Linked DNA regions of Homo sapiens: regions 1, 3, 4, 5, 6 and 7 are each linked to region 2. Evidence: promoter capture Hi-C in 16 types of primary human blood cells and fetal thymus (Javierre and others, 2016). All regions are on one chromosome and are shown on one strand. Each heading gives the region's core, a stretch centred on a gene start or on the middle of the fragment in contact. The rest is flanking DNA. Distances are from core to core; before and after follow the strand shown. Region 1 overlaps STMN2 (stathmin 2). Region 2 holds the start of MRPS28 (mitochondrial ribosomal protein S28). Region 3 has its middle 7.4 kb from the start of HEY1. Region 4 overlaps STMN2 (stathmin 2). Region 5 has its middle 66 kb from the start of HEY1. Region 6 overlaps LOC124901965 (a long non-coding RNA gene). Region 7 overlaps ZBTB10 (zinc finger and BTB domain containing 10).

The links. The method cuts DNA at HindIII sites, captures the fragments that hold promoters and counts their contacts. A CHiCAGO score of 5 or more calls a contact.
Region 1: a contact is called between a fragment that was not itself captured here and the fragment with the promoter of MRPS28 in region 2, in 1 of 17 cell types (megakaryocytes). The highest score is 5.7, in megakaryocytes.
Region 3: a contact is called between a fragment that was not itself captured here and the fragment with the promoter of MRPS28 in region 2, in 14 of 17 cell types (megakaryocytes, non-activated CD4 T cells, endothelial precursors and 11 more). The highest score is 12.6, in megakaryocytes.
Region 4: a contact is called between a fragment that was not itself captured here and the fragment with the promoter of MRPS28 in region 2, in 1 of 17 cell types (M2 macrophages). The highest score is 5.6, in M2 macrophages.
Region 5: a contact is called between a fragment that was not itself captured here and the fragment with the promoter of MRPS28 in region 2, in 7 of 17 cell types (M2 macrophages, M0 macrophages, M1 macrophages and 4 more). The highest score is 10.3, in M2 macrophages.
Region 6: a contact is called between a fragment that was not itself captured here and the fragment with the promoter of MRPS28 in region 2, in 5 of 17 cell types (M0 macrophages, M1 macrophages, M2 macrophages and 2 more). The highest score is 7.7, in M0 macrophages.
Region 7: a contact is called between a fragment that was not itself captured here and the fragment with the promoter of MRPS28 in region 2, in 1 of 17 cell types (fetal thymus). The highest score is 5.5, in fetal thymus.

The regions. Positions count from the first base shown.
Region 1 is chr8:79,618,811-79,621,510 of GRCh38, forward strand. All of the region lies in intron 1 of STMN2 (stathmin 2), which reads left to right. LOC105375916 (a long non-coding RNA gene) reads right to left here. Exons shown (of 3, transcript XR_007060974.1): 3 at 2,322-2,394. Among named protein-coding and RNA genes, the nearest start is that of STMN2, 9.0 kb to the left of the region's middle. The HindIII fragment of the contact is 3,015 bases long and covers 1-2,700 here.
Region 2 is chr8:80,028,955-80,031,654 of GRCh38, forward strand. MRPS28 (mitochondrial ribosomal protein S28) reads right to left here and starts at 1,305. Exons shown (of 3, transcript NM_014018.3): 1 at 1,082-1,305. The coding sequence starts at 1,294. All of the region lies in intron 5 of TPD52-MRPS28 (TPD52-MRPS28 readthrough), which reads right to left. It also overlaps a transcript of TPD52 not described here. RefSeq lists an enhancer at 1,028-1,457. The HindIII fragment of the contact is 3,845 bases long and covers 1-2,308 here.
Region 3 is chr8:79,759,018-79,761,717 of GRCh38, forward strand. No RefSeq gene overlaps it. Among named protein-coding and RNA genes, the nearest start is that of HEY1, 7.4 kb to the right of the region's middle. The HindIII fragment of the contact is 5,303 bases long and covers 1-2,700 here.
Region 4 is chr8:79,655,239-79,657,938 of GRCh38, forward strand. All of the region lies in intron 4 of STMN2 (stathmin 2), which reads left to right. Among named protein-coding and RNA genes, the nearest start is that of STMN2, 45 kb to the left of the region's middle. The HindIII fragment of the contact is 4,240 bases long and covers 1-2,700 here.
Region 5 is chr8:79,700,570-79,703,269 of GRCh38, forward strand. No RefSeq gene overlaps it. Among named protein-coding and RNA genes, the nearest start is that of HEY1, 66 kb to the right of the region's middle. The HindIII fragment of the contact is 3,579 bases long and covers 1-2,700 here.
Region 6 is chr8:79,718,231-79,720,930 of GRCh38, forward strand. The region is part of intron 1 of LOC124901965 (a long non-coding RNA gene); the gene reads right to left. Among named protein-coding and RNA genes, the nearest start is that of HEY1, 48 kb to the right of the region's middle. The HindIII fragment of the contact is 3,442 bases long and covers 1-2,700 here.
Region 7 is chr8:80,493,448-80,496,147 of GRCh38, forward strand. All of the region lies in intron 1 of ZBTB10 (zinc finger and BTB domain containing 10), which reads left to right. Among named protein-coding and RNA genes, the nearest start is that of ZBTB10, 8.6 kb to the left of the region's middle. The HindIII fragment of the contact is 4,137 bases long and covers 1-2,700 here.

The DNA.
Region 1 (2,700 bases), core at 133-2,632, 410 kb before region 2:
CTGGTCATGTGGAAATATAGCTTCTTTAGGAATTGTACTTAGAGTAGGAGCCACATATTATACTATAAAACCATAACAAAAATATTTTAAGTTTGTTCTCACTTGTTGTTGACCTCCAGAGTAAAATATTTAATACTCTGGAAAGTTATGGGTTTCAAAATTTATTTTATGGCAAGAAATAGATAATTACAGTTCTCATAGAGCACATTTAAAATAATTTATTTTTATAGGGCAAAAATATTGCCTAGGACTGAATGATTTTTTTTTTTTTACAAAGATTGTAAAGCAACGCCTGCAAGAGTGCCCATTTAGCAGTTATTCTTCTGGAATAATTGTATTTTGGATGTTGGAGTTCGCACATTAACCATTAGTACAAGTACCCAATATAACAATAGATCATCAGGATAATAAATCTGTCCATCTTTTAGTTGTATGTCTTTATATCAGGATAAAGAGAATTGAGTGAAATTTATCTAAACCTAGTCCCACAAATACTTTTACAAGAGAGCATGTTAAAGTGTAAATTAAATTTTTATTAGCATTCTACTCTGTCTTTGGAAGTTTTTTTTCCTTATGAAATGCAGCCATAAAGTTTAACTTCCATTAACAAAGCTGCTCACAGTAAACCTATTATAATAATAGTTTCCCAGTTTGGGCTTCCTAGTGAGGAGCAACCTAACTCACACGAAACAACCCCAACTTATAATATATTGACTGTTACAAAACTGAGACCAGAAAATCCCATCAAGATGGTACTGTTATCATTTCCAGACTCTCGGGAAGAACATTAATCATCTCAGGCACTTTTAGGATAGACTTATTGCAGCCTCCCTGGGAACTCTGCTTCAGAACATAATTATTTTTATTAATGCAGAGTTACTTTTTATTTCCAACAAAAATATCTATTGTTATTATTTAAGTCTTACAGCTTTATCTGAGAAATTCCAATTAGCACCCTTCTCATAATAAATATTCAAACACATGAAAAATTACCAAAGTTGTTCTAGTCTTTTAATGACATATTACATGATCCTGCACTCTTGTCACTTTAAAAATTATCTTTTTATTATATTTCTGATGATTTTTTTCTTATATAGTTTTTTAAAAGGAGCAGGCAAGCATAGAAGACTAAAAAATGTTCAAAAGAAAAATTAAATCGCATGATCTATCTATATGGGACCTTGTCATTTTTAGAAAACATTCACCTGCTTCATCCTTTTGAATCTTCATATAATCCCTCTGAGATGGGCATACTATACAAGTTGTCTTATTTAAAGATTGGTAAATTTAAGCTCAAATAATTTATTCAGTGGCAAGCCTCAGAGGCAGACTCGGAACACAGGTCTAATATATATTATATATATATTATAACATATAATATATATATTACATATAATAAAGTTGTGTATATTATTTACCTATCAAAATATTTATATGTAATATATAAATATGTTATATATCATGTATGTGCCTATTTCATACATATATACACATTCATGCAAAATAAGGTTTAGCACTCCCTCCACTGTCCTGTAATAAAACATGCACAGTGAGAATAGTCATACACGAGGCATATTTGTCTTCAGTTTAAAGTCATTGATAGTCAGTGTCACTAACTAAAGTAAAATAGATTGGAGCACCAACTTTGTTCTGAAGCCTGTGCCAGGTATTATGAGAACAAAAATAAAAATGTTCCTCACCCTTGGTGGATTTAGTCTTTTGCAGAAAAAAAGATCCTGTACATGTCAGAAAGTTCAATAGTAATAATGGTAATTTATAACTATAAATGGAAGTCACCATCTCACAATTTCACCATCTTAACAATTTTGTTAAACTGCCCTACAATATTACAAGATAGTACATAATGATACACTAGTAACATCAACTAGGAAGTACCAAGATCCACCAAAAGGCTGAAAAATTTAAATATTTAATGAGTCCATCAACCAATCTGGCCAGAGAATTCTTTAATTAAAATGCTTCCCAAATTTTACTGAGAATCAGCAGCGTTTGAGGAGCTAGCCTCCACCCCCAGAGGTTCTCACTCTATTAGGTCTGAAGCAGGTCCCATGGATTTGCATTTCTAACAAGCTCCCAGGTGGTGCTGATGAGGCTGATTCAGAACCACACTTGGAGTAGACCTAAAACAGCAGTGACCTGTAGGGTCCCCAAGCAGCAGGCCAGGACAGCATGTGAGTTACGTCCTCTGTGGAGCTCTGCAACAAGGCGTCAAGAGGTCAGAGTCTAAGTCCCCATCAGCTCTGCCCTTCTCCACCAGTGCTGCTGGTGCTGCATGGAAGGAAGAGCCCAGAAGGGATTCTGAGTTTCAGTCTTTACTCTTGCTGACGCACCTTGGTCAGGTCAATTTTCCTGTTTGTTCCTCTAATTCAGCATCTGTAAAATAGCCATGTGAACTGCCTTGTCCATATCAGAGGGTCTTTTTCAGACTCAAGGAAAAAAACGTGAAAGTGATTAGTGTCTGTCAAGTAGTATATAAATGCAAGAAGTTGAGTTTTTAAATTGTCATTAGATATAAATACCCATGTGCATGCATTTAGAATGAGTAAAGAGGGAACAAGGAGCGCAATCAAAAACTGCGTCATTTGCTTTTTGAAAAATACTTTCTATGTAATGAAAAGTGAAATAAAATGTTAATTGAGTCCCTCTGACAACAGCATCAGACGTTTTGCAGTTCTTGTG
Region 2 (2,700 bases), core at 55-2,554:
TCAAAAAACAACAAAACAAACAAAAAAATCCAAAAAACAAAAAAGTAGAAAACAGAGGCAGAAAAGACAGGCCAGGAAGAGATTCTCCTAGAAGCTACGGAAAAGAACACAACTTCACCAACACCTTGATTTTAGACCAGTGAGATCCCGTCTGACTTCTCACAACCCTAACAACAACACATTTCCTGTGTTTTACGCCACTAAATTTGTAGTAATTTGTTACAACAGAAAATAATAAACTAATATACCAGGCTTCTTCTAGTCCTTGGATTTCAGAAAAATTTTGACATCAGTAATTGCTACTAAAATGACCCTATAACCCAGGACACTGCCAGTCTTGTGAACTGTTTGGTACTACTCCCTAGGAAGAAAAATACAGAAATTGAGAGTTTATTTGTATATAATTCAATTTCATGTCTGCTGAGTTTAATTATTAAAAACTTAGGCTTGTAATTTTATTTCTTCCATTTCATTTATCTATAAATTTATGGTATTTTACAAAAGTACTGGCTGAGACAAACGGAGATTTTACTTTACTTTTTAAAAAAAGAAGACATTTACAAAAGAGAGGTGAAGCGCTGACAAGTTAAATCACTTGCCCAAGTTCAGAAAGTGATTCATCACCCAGTCATTAAATTAACAAATGTTTATGAAGGGCCTTCTACTCCAGACAGCAAGCTCCATGCTAGAGCTACTGTTCAGAACAAGACCCAGCAGAGCCCTGCCTCTCCGTGTGAGTCCCATTCTCCTTAGCGTCCCAGGAATCGCCCTAGATCGCCTCCCCAGCAGCGCTCCCCGCTGGTTACCTTCCCACCAGCATTCAATCCCAGGAAAACAAGCGCAGTGTGGACAGACCCGGCCCAGTACGCAAATGCCACACAAAAGGACAACGAAAGGAAGAAAAACACCAAGCACAGATTCTAGGGGCCGAGGGCTGAGCCACAACGCACCGCAACTCCGGAAAACTGGGCCCCGGACCTCAGCTCCCCTTCCTAAGCCAGGCTCCGCCCCTATTCCCGACCCCGCCCACCGCGTCGTTGGCGTAATTCCCGCGACTCCCTCTCACCCGCCCGGGCTCCACCTTCTGTAGGGGCTCCACCTTCTGTAGAAGCTCCGAGTGCCGCTCCAACGCGCTCGCGAAACCGCCTGCGCGCGTCTTAGGCTCCTTGGCATTGGAACTACCACTTTCGGATCCACTCTCAGTGCCTACACCCCGAAAGGGCCTGAAGAAGAGAAACACTCGCAGAAAATGGCTCTCGGCAGCCACAGCACGGGTCCGACACAGCGCCGCCATGACTTCTTTACCTCTGACCTTTGACCTCCCCTCCGCAAGCGCGCGGGTCACGGGGCGGAGCTATGAGAGGTCCGCCCCCCGGACGCAGAGCTCTGGAGGCCAACGAGGCGTGTCTTCCTTTCATCTGGGAGTGGCGTGGGGAAGAAGAGACTTAAGCTAAAATTGGTGGGCTAAATAGTTGGAAAGGGGCCTGGTTAAGTTTTGCGTTAGAAGTGCGTTTAACTTGCAGGAATTTCGCCTTCCTGGGCATCCGTTGGACCCCATTGTACTGTAAATTCTGCTAACGCGACGCTCGTTCTCCCGCCCTGCCGTCCCCCCTACATGGCCGCCAGCACTCGAGTTTGGGGTCTTCACTCAAATATGAGGGTCTCCTTGATTACCCTATTTAGAAGTGGAAGCCCAAATGCAGACTCTCTGGCACCTGTTTTTCTTAGTACCATGTAGCACTTTCTAATATGCCACATATTAATATTAAATATTTAATAATATTTAGTGTCTACTCCCAACTTTTTAAACTTTGAAAAGAGGAACTTTGCTGTAGGGTCCCTAGCACCAGGCACAGATTAGGGCTCACCCAACATTTGCCAAACCCTGCATCCAAGTTTGTCCTTTGCCACTTCTGCAGCCAGTCCACTCACGCCACAAAAATAGTTTTTCTGAAATGTTTTGACACCTCTAGATACCTATTATCTAACTTAGGAGTTCAGAAGTTTTGGAATGTCCCTAAGTATTGCACCGCCGTAGGCCCCCACCCTCACTCTGGATTTTCTTTCCCTTTTCTCCTGCAGTGTTAATTCCCAAAATTTACCCACCCTGTTCAAAACAGCCTAACATCATTCTTAAGTGTTTATTAATTAGTTGTCCGTCTATCTTTGACCCAGCAGTTTAATATTAATCCACAGTTAGTTTTATTTTGGGGGCACACACCTTTCCAGTTCATTTGCAAGTACTTCGAGAGAAAGAATTTTTATGATCACAGACCCTATTTTAAGAATGCCTTGACTATGGGTTTTAAGCTTTTCTGATGCTCTCTAATGGTACAGATAGTGTTAAGAACACGAAGTACACTGATCTCAGAATGGTGCACAATTGTATGAATCACATAAAATTATTACTAGCTAACTGTATGGTAGTCCTTACAAATTCATTAAATTCTCCAGGTGAGTTCTCCCTCTTGGCAGTTAAAACTGTTTATCTCCCGAGACTATTAATGGACTCTTGCCTAGAACATTATTTTCTACGGATAGTGCTACTTCCACTTTTTTTCAGGAGAAAGTGTGGTAAATTGTAAAGAGCATGGCCAGTGGTCTTCAAGAACCCTCAGTCTGACTGGGCAGGGTGGCTTACACTTGTAATCCCAGCACTTTGTGAGGTTGAGGAGGGAGGATTGCTTGAGATGAGGAGTC
Region 3 (2,700 bases), core at 119-2,618, 270 kb before region 2:
TAAAAATACAAAAATTAGCCGGGCGTGGTGGCAGGTGCCTGTAGTCCCAGCTACTCAGAAGGCTGAGGCAGGAGAATTGTTTGAACCTGGGAGGTGGAGAGCGAGACTCCACCTCCAAAAAAAAAAAAAGAAAAGAAAGGTGACCAATATCCCTACATTCCCACTAGGCACACAGAAGTGGGAATAAATAAGGAAATAAATAAATAAGGAAATAGACTTGAAGAATGATGTTTGAGTTTGGTTTTTTTTTAAAGCAGAATTTTGGCTGGACGCAGTGGCTCACACCTGTAATCCCAAAACTTTAGGAAGCCAAGGTGGGAGGATCGCTTGAGTCCAGAAGTTTGCATACCAAGACCCTGTCTCTCTATAAAAATAAAAATAAATAAAATAAATAAAAGCAGAATTTTATAATAGTGAAGAGGAAGTACTGAAGTGAAACATAAAATTATCTTCCCTGGGAGTAGTGAAGGTGGGGGCTGGAGGATAAAGACCTGCCTGTCTGGCTCTCTTTTGCTCTGCTTTTTTTTTTTTTTTTTTTTTTTTTTTTGACAGTTTTGCTCAGGCTGGAGTTCAATGGCGCAATCTCGGCTCACCACAACCTCCACCTGCTGGGCTCAAGCAATTCTCCAGTCAACCTCCCAAGTAGCTGTGATTATAGGCATGTGCTACCACACCTGGCTATTTTTGTTTGTTTGTTTGTTTGGTTTTTTGTTTTTTTTTAGTAGAGATGGGTTTCTCCATGTTGGTCAGGCTGGTCTCAAACTCCAGGCCTCAGGTGATCCGCCCGCATCTGCCTCCCAAAGTGCTGGGATTACAGGCATGAGCCACCCTGCCCGGTTGCTCTGCTTCTTAGTGGAGACCAAGGGGGTGGATAGGATTCATTCACTCATTCAACAAATACTTACTGAGAGCCTCTAATGTGCTAGGCAATTTTAAGTGACAGAACTGTAGAAGTGAACAAACCAGGCAAAAACAGATAATAAACAGTCAATGAAGTATCTATTCTGTCAGATAATTCTGGGTACGGTGGAGATAAACAAAAGAAGAAAGGGAGGTAGGGAGAGGCAGATGTGGGGATGAGAGACTGAGAGTGGGATGATTGTTTTAAATAGAGTTGCAAGGAAAGACCTGGTGGGGAAGGTGACCTTTGAGCAGAGCCGCAAGTAGAGATTACAGATAGGTCAGCAGACCGTTGGGGGAAAAGCATTCCAGGCAGAGGGAACGGCCAACACAAAGGCCTGGAGATGCAAACATGTAGAGCACGTTCCCACAAGAGCAGACAGCAAGTGTGGCTGGAGCAGTGAGGAGGGGCGAGTGGTAGGAAATGAGGTCAAAGAGGATGATCAAAGCCTCAGATATGTCATTCTTTAATTTTATGATTCAGTGCTGCATTTATGGAACACCCCTAAGCACCAGAAACAAAACCATGCCCAGGGGAGGCATTTAAAAAAAAAAAATACTAAAAGTAGCTACAGAAACTGTTTGGGTATCAACTCTATCAGAGGTAAACGGCAGTCTCTTTCTGGCTAAAATATAACGTTTTCAAGTCTCTTCTGCTACATCAAGCCATAGATAACCTACCAACCATCTATGATTAAGAGTTTTCAAATTTAGGCATGGTCTTTTAACTTGACTGTAACAAAAAATACCAACATAGGAGTAAATTCAATGGGAAATTTTACAACCAAACTATAAAGAAGCCTAATGTGGCAGTGGATTAACGCAAAATCCAGATACCTGTCTGTGTTCCTCAGACTCATCTCTTAGGGACATTTGTTTACCTTGAATTTTGCTGGGATTTACAGGCTTGGGGGAACAGTTCTGTGACAAGTGCCTATCAATACCTACAGACAGCTCAAAAAGAAAGGCCTGGATTTCTTTTTCCTTGGCTTTCTTCTCGCCTCTCCCCACCCCCCGCCCCAGAGCAGAACACTGAAGGATCTGAGAGAAAAACCCTGCAGCTCATCAAGATCAAGGCAGGCATTATATTTCAAGTTGAAGTTCAAAACAGCTTGCTTTTTGCTGAGACGTCTTACTTCCTGAAATCAGATGATGCCTTTTAGTACTTCAGCGTGCTGAGTCACAAGCGAGCTACACACTCGCTCTTTCATTTCAGGCTGCCAGGCTGAGAACTCGTCTTCCTCCATGGTAAAGGGAATGCAAGGACCCAGTTGAGAACACCTTTGGAAGAGGTTTCTGTGAAGCAGAAACCTCTCTCCTTGCTTTATTTTACCTTGAGGAAATTGGACAGCCCAGAAGTAATTTTTTAAAAAACTCTGCACGTAATCTTTACATAATATCACCTACAGCTGCCTAAAGACTGCAGTGTTGATTTTATTTTAGCTTATGTTTACCCATTTATTGTAGCGTATTCAAAGCACGGATGACAAAGATATTAGAAAATTCTAGCCCTCCAGAGAGCCATTCAGATTAGAGCCCTGGAAGCTGAGAAATAGTTGTTGCCCATGGCTCAGTCTTGCTGGAAGACAGGTTTTGGTGAATTAGTGACTAACCAATAAAAATTGGACAATTTCACATAAAAAATCCAAATTTGGAGATGCCTTTGGAAACTTGAAAGATCTGCTAACACTGGACTAAAATTTCTGCATAGGAACAATCGGCGACTCCTCAGCCAGACCCGGAGACAGAATGGGTGCTGGGAAAATATGACGTCCTCCCTGGGTCATCACTCACCTGATA
Region 4 (2,700 bases), core at 55-2,554, 370 kb before region 2:
TAGAGAAATGGGAATCCATCATGAAAGCTGGAATTTTGTCAAATTTTCCCATGGTGAGTGGATTCAGGGAGGCTGATTCATGCTTTTGAAATGTGTAAGACTTCTATACAAGCCTCACGAGGCAATCTGTAGGAAAAATGTTACACTGGAAATATTAATGTCTATATATTATATTGATATAAGTATAAATAACATTTGATTTAATATTTGTTTAATATATGACATTAAATATATATTTAATTAAAATATTAAATTAGAAAAATATATTTGCCAGAAAAGGCCAGGGTATTTATGAACACTGGTAAGCCCATTCTAGGGTATAATAGCATCACATGGGACCATAGCAAAGATTAGCTCATAGGGGATGTTTCATCCAGTTCTGGTATCCTGGTGCCCTTCTCTTCAACAACCTAAACATATATTCATTCCCATGAGTCAGGAGGAGCTGTGCTGGAGTTCTTCTGAAAAATGCTGTCTTTCACTTTTGTACTCTCTATGCTGTCTCCCACCTATCCCCTCAAAAAACCTTTCCTTTGAAAATATACAGTATAGCTGTGAGTAGTTTAGCTGTGTCCGTTTCCAGAAATTGGAATAAGCATTGAGAAATGGGATGTTTGAGAAAGACGCCTCAATCCTTTTCTGAGCAGTCAGTCACCCTTCCCGCCAGTAGCAAGTGCCTTTGTGTGATAGGCATTGGAGATGCAGAGCAAAACAGGAGTGTGCCTGTCATCAGAGCCCTGAGAGTTTAATTAGATGAGCCTCCTGTTTTCTATTTCTCAGAGTTTCATGTCTTCTGTTAGAGATGGCCCTTCTCATCTAAGGTTCAAAAAACCTTATCCTGAAGTTCTGATGATTCTGTTTTCATTCTCAGTCTCTGACTGCAAATATCCAACTAGAAACAAAGGAAATCAGGCATGAAAACTTTTAAAGATATAATTGCATGGAGATCTTCATTTGTGCTCGTGAGGAATTTTTGAAAGCATTGCTGGGGAAGGGTGTGTGGGCTCTGATGCAGCAGTAAGACACTGAGGCTCTCAGAGGTCCGTGGACGAGTACTGCTGACTTGGGCAAGAACCGGAATAGTTACCTGATGCCTTATCCGAAACATGAAAGTTCGGATTAAATTTGTATTTATAAGCTAGTGTTTTTATACTCTCAGAACAATGTCATTGCGTTTCACCCAAGTGAGTCAAGTCACGATTTGGAAGAGGCAACAGAATTTGGCTCTCTCCAGGTGATTTATGGCGGTATAGGAACACATGTTTTACTCAGATACAGGGGAGCAAAGTTCCATTTGCTAAAGTTTACTCCCCTGACCTTCAACCAGTCAGTCTTCCTCCATCTGCCACCACTTTGCACTTCTCCAGAGAACTAAGGATGTTCCCGCTTGACCAGTGCTCATAACATGGACAGCAGAGGGCCACTGTGTGATCTCTTTGAGATCACTGTGACTCAACCTTCTTCTCACATCCTAGGCCCTAAAACAATTAAGTGAAGTTGCTAGGAACGGTACCTGCTGATCTTATTGCAGCATTCTCAATTAGGCCTCAATGCAAGATTTATATCACTGGCAGTCCTGGAGCATTTTTGTTTTTCAAATTACACATACCCAAACACACGGCATAGCCTCCTTTTTTGTTTGTTTGTTTTTTTGAGATAGAGTCTCGCTGTGTCGCCCAGGCTGGAGTGCAGTGGCACGATCTCAGCTCACTGCAACCTCTGCCTCCTGGGTTCAAGTGATTCTCATGTCTCAGCCTCCCAAGTAGCTGAGATTACAGGCGTATACCACCACGCCCAGCTAATTTTTGTATTTTTAGTAGAGACAGGGTTTTGCCGTGTTGGCCAAGCTGGTCTCAAACTCCTGACCTCAAGTGATCCACCCACCTCGGCCTCCCGAAGTGCTGGGATTACAGGTGTGAGCCACCGTGCCCAGCCAGGGCATATCCTTCTTGATTTCAATTGTAAAATAGTTCAAAAATTTTCCATATTTTATCTAATATTTCCAGAAGTGCTAGCTTTTAACGGACCATTTTTTTCCTCTGTGTGTTTTTTTCTCTTCACCTAGCCCAGCCATGCTCAGCTCATTTTTGTACTCTTTCCACTCCCAACCAAATTTAGTGCCCTCCCCCATACATGCATACATGTACATCTGCACACCACTTTTCCTGCAAATAATCAACCCAAAGAGTGCTTAAAATTCCTGACATCAACCCACAGAATCTCCAAGGATGGGACCCAGCATCCATACATTTTAAAAACTCTCCATATAGTTCCAATATGCAGCCAGATTTGAGAACTAGTGGTTCGTAGCCTGTTCTGATTTAAATCTCAGCTCTCAGCAGTCTATCCCACGTCACATAATGCAGCCCAGAGAAATTCTAGGACCACATTTTTTTCTGGTATTTCATAGCTAATGAGGTGCTTTTCAAATCTAATAGGATCTTTGGCCAGTGTCAGTCAAGATCTTTTATCTCCTCAATAAAAAGGAAATACCATATTTACTTTGATTTGATGTATATCACATAGGTGGATTTAATACAAAATTGTGGTTTACATATTGTGAATGTGTATACTAAAACTACTTTGCTTTTTCCTAAAATAAGACAAAGTTTTATATTGGAAGTAATATTTAGCATTTTGTTTGAATGAAGTTACTCCTATTAAATTAGAAATTTAAAAGAGGGTCAGTAATAACAGTAA
Region 5 (2,700 bases), core at 113-2,612, 330 kb before region 2:
TCCATTCCTCTGCAATACTCTTGGCCTCTGCTCTCTTCCATGAGGAAGACTCATCTCAGACTGGTAATGATATAGGTGTAGTGGTTCTAGACCCTACGTCTGCACATGACAAGATCTAAAAGAAGAGGGTAAAAGTTGCTTCCAGAACTTTTCCCAGAAAAAGAAAACAAATTAAGGAGTCCCCAACAAACCTGTCCTCTTGCATTTGGATCTGAATTGAATCCTGAAACAATCAGTAGCAAATGGGACAGGATTACCCTTTGACCTTGTGATAGAAAAGAGGAAAAGTGAATTTTCCTTGCTCAGTGGCAAGGTTCTGGAAGAATATGTGACACTGGAATTGTTGTTGCAACTTCTTTTGGAAAATGAAACCTGCCACAAGGAAAATGGGAGCTTGATAGGCCACCAAAAATATTCATCACCAGCAGGTAAGTCCTGTATACAAACACCCACCTGCTTGCTGTACAAAGTGATAGGTGCTTTAAGGCATAAGATGCAACCACAAAAATGTAAGTATGAAAAGTAATGCTTAGCTTAATTATCTTGATTTAGCCATTTCATAATACATATATATGCCAAAACATCATGTTATACACCATTAGTATATATAGTTTTGTCAGTTTAAAATAATAATAAAATTAAAAAGCATGCAAAGTGCTAAAACAGTTCAAAAATGCAAGAGATTATATTTCTGATTGCAGGGGTGTGCAGAGAAGACAGCATTTGTAAGTGAATCATGAAGTATGGGAAAGGTGTGTATATGGGGAAATATAGATAAGAGGATTCCAGTGAGAGATCAAGTAAGTAAATCCCAAGACACAAGAAAGTGTGTGAAAAATAGAATTCCAGATTAAGGGACTTCCATAGGTAAATCCAGAGGAGGAGGTGTCTAAGCAACAGTGTAAAGTTCATTCAAACAATCGCTCATCTCTTATACTTATTAAAGATTTATAATAATGTTTTCCTAAGACTCTCCTCTGAAAACTGTTGGCAAAATAATATAAGTAAGTAAATTGAATAACAGGTAAGCAGGCCAGCAGACAGGAGAAAAGAGAAGTGACAGGGGGTGGTGGAGAGAGAAAGAAACAAAGCACATCCATAGTAGGCACCCTCTGTTGGAAGCCACCAGCTTACCTGATTGACCTAATGGCTGCCTACACTGACTTCATGGCACTCGGGCTGATGACCCATCTTAATTGATTTTGTGCCACCATAACAAAAGACCTGAGACTAGGCAATTTATAAATAACAGAAATTTAATTCTCACAGTTCTAGGGGCTGGGAAGTCCAAAATCAAGGTGCCAGCATCTGGTGAGGTTCTTCCTGCTGTGTCCTTACAGGGAAGAAGGCAGAAGGGGCAAGAGAAAGTGATCCCACTCCTGCAAGCCCTTATTATATCAGCATTAATTCATTCATGAGGGCAGAACCCTCCTGGCTGAAACATCTCCCAAAAGGTCCCATCTCCTAACACTGTTGCATTGGAAATTAAATTTCCAACACATGAGTTTGGAGACACATTCAGACCATAGCACTTTCTATAAATGAAAGGGTTGATTTTAAACCACCAGGTGTTCTCAGCCTATTTCACATAGAAAATAATCATATTTCTTCATAACCCAGATAAGCAGGATTGAGGGCTAGAGGTGACCTGCTCCTGCACAGGGGCTGTAGCCCCCTAAGAGCTGAGAAGATCAATACCCCACCACACATGTAACATGGCTTAGACTACAGTGGGTCCCAGCCTCAGTTGCATGCTGAAGTCCCTTTATGAATTTTTACAAGATTACTGATGCAGTAGTATCTCCCAATATTGTGAATAATTGATCCTGGATATAGCCAGGCCACAGAATGTTTTGAATATTTGCTTCATGGTTTTTGAATACATTGCTCTACAACCTGATCATCAAGAACTCTCTAGAATTGACTCTTACAGAATGAAGTCTTGAAGGCTTAATAGTTCAGAGTTCATCTTCACAATTGGAGTTTCTACCTTGTAATAGCATTTAATCATTTATCTACAAAGGAACAGGAATAACTCTGTGACTGGAGGGGAAAAGCTCACTCTAAATGTTTGTATTATGCTAAACTTCCAACTATGTAGAAGTATCTGGACAATTTTTTTAAATTTCCAATCCAGATGTGTGATTTTATTTAGACTCCCAGGGGAAAACTCTGTTTCTGACATTCCTAATGAGAAGAGACATTTTTGTTATTAGACATTGAGGAATTTGGGCATGAATAACTCAGGCTGGGAGTGCTGTTTGTGACTCAAATGTATGTATCTCCAAATTGGTCTCTGCCCATGATAAAATAGGGGAAAAAAAAACTGCTTAACTGCCTATGACATAAGATTTTCACTGAGTTGGCAATACATTTTCCAATAGAGGAGTCAGGGGTAACTTAGGTAATTTTAGTAGCAAAGGCCCACGGGAAGTTTCCTACCATGGATTATATTCTTTAGTTCATCAGTACAACCATATGAAGGGTGAAGAAATGCTTTCAGCCACCAACCAACAGTGAATTCACTTCTTCTTGGGGTCTAGACAACCCTGCTATGTGCAGATTAGATCCCTCCACCTCCACCAGAAGGTTCGTTTTCCAGATGAATCTCAGCCAGCTGCATGCTGTTGTCATTCTAGTCTGGTGAAAAGCAACATGTATCTCTTTATTTTGTCACCTGAAATACAAAAAGGATTATGA
Region 6 (2,700 bases), core at 191-2,690, 310 kb before region 2:
TAGGAAATGGGAGATATGCTAGATTTCATGACTCTATGGAAAATTTATTAGAAATTATTAGGTCTAGAAAGTTATTTCTTTACATAGGTATTTTCTTCCTATTTACTACTACACCACCAAATAGCTTGTCCAAAAAATTTGAGACAGTCTATTCAATAAATAAATGTGTAGATAGATAGATAGATATTAATAAGACACAGATAAGTAAATAAATCTTGGAAAGGGGAAATAAGGGTAATGAAAATAAAACCAGGATTTAATTCAGTATATTTAATACATCTCATCAAGTGCTTCACACTTGCTAGAAATAGGCTATGACTTTGGCTTCAGAAGCCTAGCAGCCAATACAGAAAAGAAACCTCAGTCGGGGAAAATGTATCAATCCCATGGAGGAACTTGCAGTTAGAAAAGACTATATTTGAATCCCAGTTCTAACCAGCTGTGCGGCCTTGAGTGCAAGTCATTGAACATTCTAAGTCTCAGTTTCCTCTTCTATATAATGGGAATGATAATACCTGACTCTCAGAGCTGTCAACTATACAAGTCAACTCTCCAGCAGAACACCTTACATTCAGCAAATGTTTAATATGAGTCATCAGTTAAACAGTTCACACTATCAATAGAATAAAAATTAAACCAGTTGCTGGGGACCAGCTAGCAAATAGCTAACCGACTAGTACCAGCAGCAATCCAATGAGACTCAAGTAAGGAGAGGAAAAAGATCCTACACACTTTAGCAATGCTGGAGGTTTGAATCAGTTACTGTAAACAGTAAAATAATTTACACATGGACACAAATTCGGCAGTGATTTTAGGCTTCAACATGCAGCATATGGGCTTGGTTGTGTGCATGCATGTGTGTGTGCCCACGTGTACGTGTTATACTATTGTTTTTAATTTAGTAGTCCCTTGACTAAATTCTCTCTTCACAGATTTGCCCAGGCAGCTTCAACACTGACCTTCCTTTTTCTATTTTCTTTTCCTTTTTTGCTTTTTTTTGTTGTTGTTGTTGTTGGTTTGTTGTTGTTTTTTTTTGTTTGTTTTTGTTTTTTTTGAGACAGAATGTCTCTCTGTCACCCAGGCTGGAGTGCAGTGGTGTGATCTCGGCTCACTGCAACCTCAGCCTTCGGGGCTCACTCAATTCTCCCGCGTCAGCCTCCCCAGCAGCTGGGATTACAGGCGCCCTCCACCATGCCTGGCTAATTTTTGTATTTTTAGTAGAGACGGGGTTTCATCCTGTTGGCCAGGCTGGTCTTGAACTCCTGAGTTCAAGTGATCCGCCCACATCAGCCTCCCAAAGTGCTAGGATTACAGGTGTGAGCCACAGCCTGAACCACAGCGCCCAGCCTTCCTTTTTCTTTCTTCTTTTTTTTTTTTTTACAAGTAAACTGGGCTTCCTGGCTCTGCATTCCTCTCTCCCACCTTCTCATCCATCAATGGAGGCTGTGAACTTTCTCTAGCAGAAAAGGCAAGTGGGTCCATTGGACAAGACTAACATAATTTTAATGAGTCAACCAGTGAGAAGTGCTGGACTCACTAACCAGGTGGCGGATTTCTCTACTCGATCTCCCAGACTTCATGCACACCAGCCCCTTTTGGCCCAGTCACATCTTTCAGCTCCAGATGTACTGGGATCCCAGTCAGCAGGCTCATGCCTCTCATTCTACCTCTGAAATCCTCAATTGCTGAGCCATGATGATTTTTCCACACCTCACCCCAGGGTGTGTCAGCACACAAAGCCAGAGAGTTTGAAATCTTTTGAGCTCATTAAAATAGATGTGCAACTGGGGTCTACTAACCCTGCTCTCCAGTGTCCACAACTCTGGCTCCCCACACCCTACTGTCCCCTAAACTCACAGCACAACTAGATCCCATTAATAAGGGCACACTAGCTGTCCCTAAAGGTCTGGAAACAATAAGGTCATGCTCATTCCCACTTGAGCCTGGTTTGACCTGCAGTGGAGCCATAGCCCATGCAGCCTCCCACCTTAGCACTCCCTGGAGGCCATAAAAGACACCAATTAGAGCCAAATCACACTTTCCCATAGGGGCCAACGTTTTCATATTTCTCAGGAAACGTATTATTTTTATCCAAAACTGATATGAAATACTCCAAAAAAGAAACTTTTAAATGTATGATCAGAAAAGTAGAAGTAGAAAACAACTAAATGTCCTTTACTAGGAAACATAGTACTCCTTGGGAAAGAGACAGATTTGATGGGGGAGGGAATCTCTGGAGCTCAGATAACAGCAGCATGGAAGGAATATATTTTTATTATCAGAGAAGTTAGAAAACAGTAGGGGAAACCCAGTTAGCCAAACTTGACAAAAAAGCACATCACATCAGTCAACAGCAAGATTTGAATGCCTGCCAAGCATGGCTCGTGATTAGACAGGGAAAACAGCATCTGGCTTAAGACCTTGAGTTTTGGTGTCAAGTTGATTTGGGGATCATGTTCTGGGTTCTTACTGACGGTTGTTAACCTGGCTCTCCCACCTACTAGCTGCAGGACTTGGGATAAGTAACTCAGTAACTTAAACCTTAGTCTCTTCTTCTGTAAAGTGGGGCTAATCATATCTCTTCCATAAAACTGCTGTGAGTTTAAATAACTTATTAATGTGCAGAGACAAGGGTTGGCCAACAAATATTTACAAGTGCCTGTTACGATCTAGACAGTTGTATAAGAAATAGTTACTGCT
Region 7 (2,700 bases), core at 195-2,694, 460 kb after region 2:
TCAATCTAGAGGCACCTGCGTAGTGTGTATGTGGGTTTAGAGTTTGAGGAGAGAACTGGTTGGCAGGATGTTATAATAACCTGAATAGGCCGGGCGCGGTGGCTCAGGCCTGTAATCCCAGCACTTCGGGAGGCCGAGGGGGATGGATCATCTGAGGTCGGGAGTTCGAGACCAACCTGACCAACATGGAGAAACCCCGTCTCTAATTTAAAAACAAAACAAAAAAAAAAAACCGAGCCGGGCGTGGTGGCGCATGCCTGTAATCCCAGCTACTCGGGAGGCTGAGGCAGGAGAATCGCTTCAACGCAGAAGGCAGAGGTTGTGGTGAGCCGAGATCGCGCCCTTGTGCTTGGACAACAAGAGCGAAACTTCGTCTCAAAAATAAAAAATAAAAAATAACCTGAATAACCATCGTCTGTCTGCTCCCTAACACTCACAGGATTAGAATTTCTGGGGATAGTACTTAAGCTACCAAAGAGGATGCCATCACTCAGAGATATAGAGGTGATCAGAAAACTGCAAAAGAGACCTTCTTGTCTTTTTCTCTACCAACTGTTATGATTTGTCATTGCCACTAGCATGTATTTGGCAAAACTTGCTATGGCCTTGTTTGTCTTCCTTCTATAAAATGAATTTGTTCTAAAATTTGGAAATAGAAATTACTGTTTTTGTTCTTTCAGTATATTCCAGTGGGTTGCTGCAGAGTAATATTTTTATGTTTTCAATGCTTTTAGTTTACACTTAAATGTTTGTGTTGGAAATGTCTTTTCTGCTAATTCAGTTATTGGAAAAGGGCTGTAATTGAGTAGGGTAGTAAATACTAATTGCTTGTTTCTTTAACTGAATAACATTTTCCTATTGTTAACGGATTGACTACAGGTGTGCTGTTTGACTTTCTATTACTTGTAACTGAAGTTAGCCTCTCTTCCTCTACCCCCGCAAAAGTGTAGGAGACTGGGTGATGGTCTTGTATTCTCTACAAGTTGGTGGCGTTGTTTAGGCCCCAAGCTGGAATGCTGATGACCCTATGATTCTCTCCCTCCACCCTTTACATCTGTTTTATCATGCAAGTTCTGATGATTTTTAGACTATTTTTCTAGGCTCTGCTTCACACCTCATTGACACCTATCTTCCCTAATTAAGGTCTTTTTTTTCTGGCATGTATGTTGCCCTATTAACAGTAGCTTTCCAGAGGGTACATGGCTCACACCTGTAAACTTAGCACTCTGGGAGGCCAAAGCAGGAGGATTGCTTGAGCCCAGGAGTTTGAGACAAGCCTGGGCAACACAGGGAGACTCTTATCTCTACAAAAATTTAAAAAAATAAAATAACTGGGCGTGGTGGCACACATCTTATAGTCCCAGCTACTTGGGAGACTGAGACAGGAGGATCCCTTGAACCCAGGAGGTTGAGGGTACAATAAGCCATGATCTAACCACTGCACTCCAGCCTGGGTGACAGAGTGACACTGTCTCAAAAAAAAAAAAAAAAAAAGGAAAAATAGCTTTCCAACTGATCACAGTATCTGCAGTCTTCATTCCCTGATAATAAATCTCCACCTTGCTGCCATAGGCATCTCTCCTCTTTGCTATTTCGATTATATCACTGCTTCTGAAAACTCTGTAAGGTGCCTATAGCAATGGTTCTAATATTTGGGAGGGAGAAGGGGATTCAAATCTCTCTCTCTCTTTTTTTTTTTTTTTAAGGAGATAGGGTTTCTCTATGTTGACTGGGCTGGTCTTGAACTCCTGGCTACCAGCCATCCTGTCGCCTTCCAAAGTGCTGAGATTACATGGCGCTCTTGTCAAAATGGATGGACATTTACCTCTGAAATGTGCCCAAGTGCATATTTGCATTCCGTAGGGCTTTTTAGAAAATCACATTGAAGTTCTTTTACAAATCTTAACTTTTGAGGATGCTATAGACCATCTTATGTTTTTTTAAAATGCTGGGTTTTTGTTTTGTTGTTTTTTTTTTTTTTAAATGCCGTCGCATTTACTTGAAGTGCTCATCCACCCATCCCACTCTTGGATCCTTTAAAGCTCTGCTCAGGTCTTGTTTCTTCGAAAAAGCATCCCCACACTTTAAAAACAAAAAACTGGATTAGATACACATGCTTTCTGCTCTTATAACACCTTAAGAGTCTTACCCACTAACAGTAACTTCAAATTAGCAACTGAATCATTTTGCTTCCTAGTGTAGACCCTGGCCAAAGTAGGTATTCATTTAATGTTTATTAAATAAATATGTAAAGTTAGGACTTTTCAAGCATTTTCCTTTGAGTAAAATATTTACTATTTTGTAGCCTATGTTCTGGAAATATTGAACATCTAGATAATAGGTTATAAGGATTTTAACTAACTGGACACTTACCTATATTTTCTAAATTTTGGAAGACTTGATATTGAGGTCTCATCCAGACTAAAGTTTTACTAAATGGCATCTTTACAAATAAAAAAATTCAAGATTTCATATTTAGCTCTGAATGTCTGTTTCTTTAAAATCTCCTTGTTTAGCCAGTTTAGACTAATGTCTGAGCTAATTGTGTTTTCCTTTTTGGGAGAGAGGTTAGAAAAGGTCACTACATTTGAAAAGACCAGTTGTGGAAATAGTAATTTTTTTTAACTTATCAGTGATATCTGATGTTATCAGTATACTAAAAGTGGACATAGAACGTTAAAGAAGGAACCAAAGAGGCAA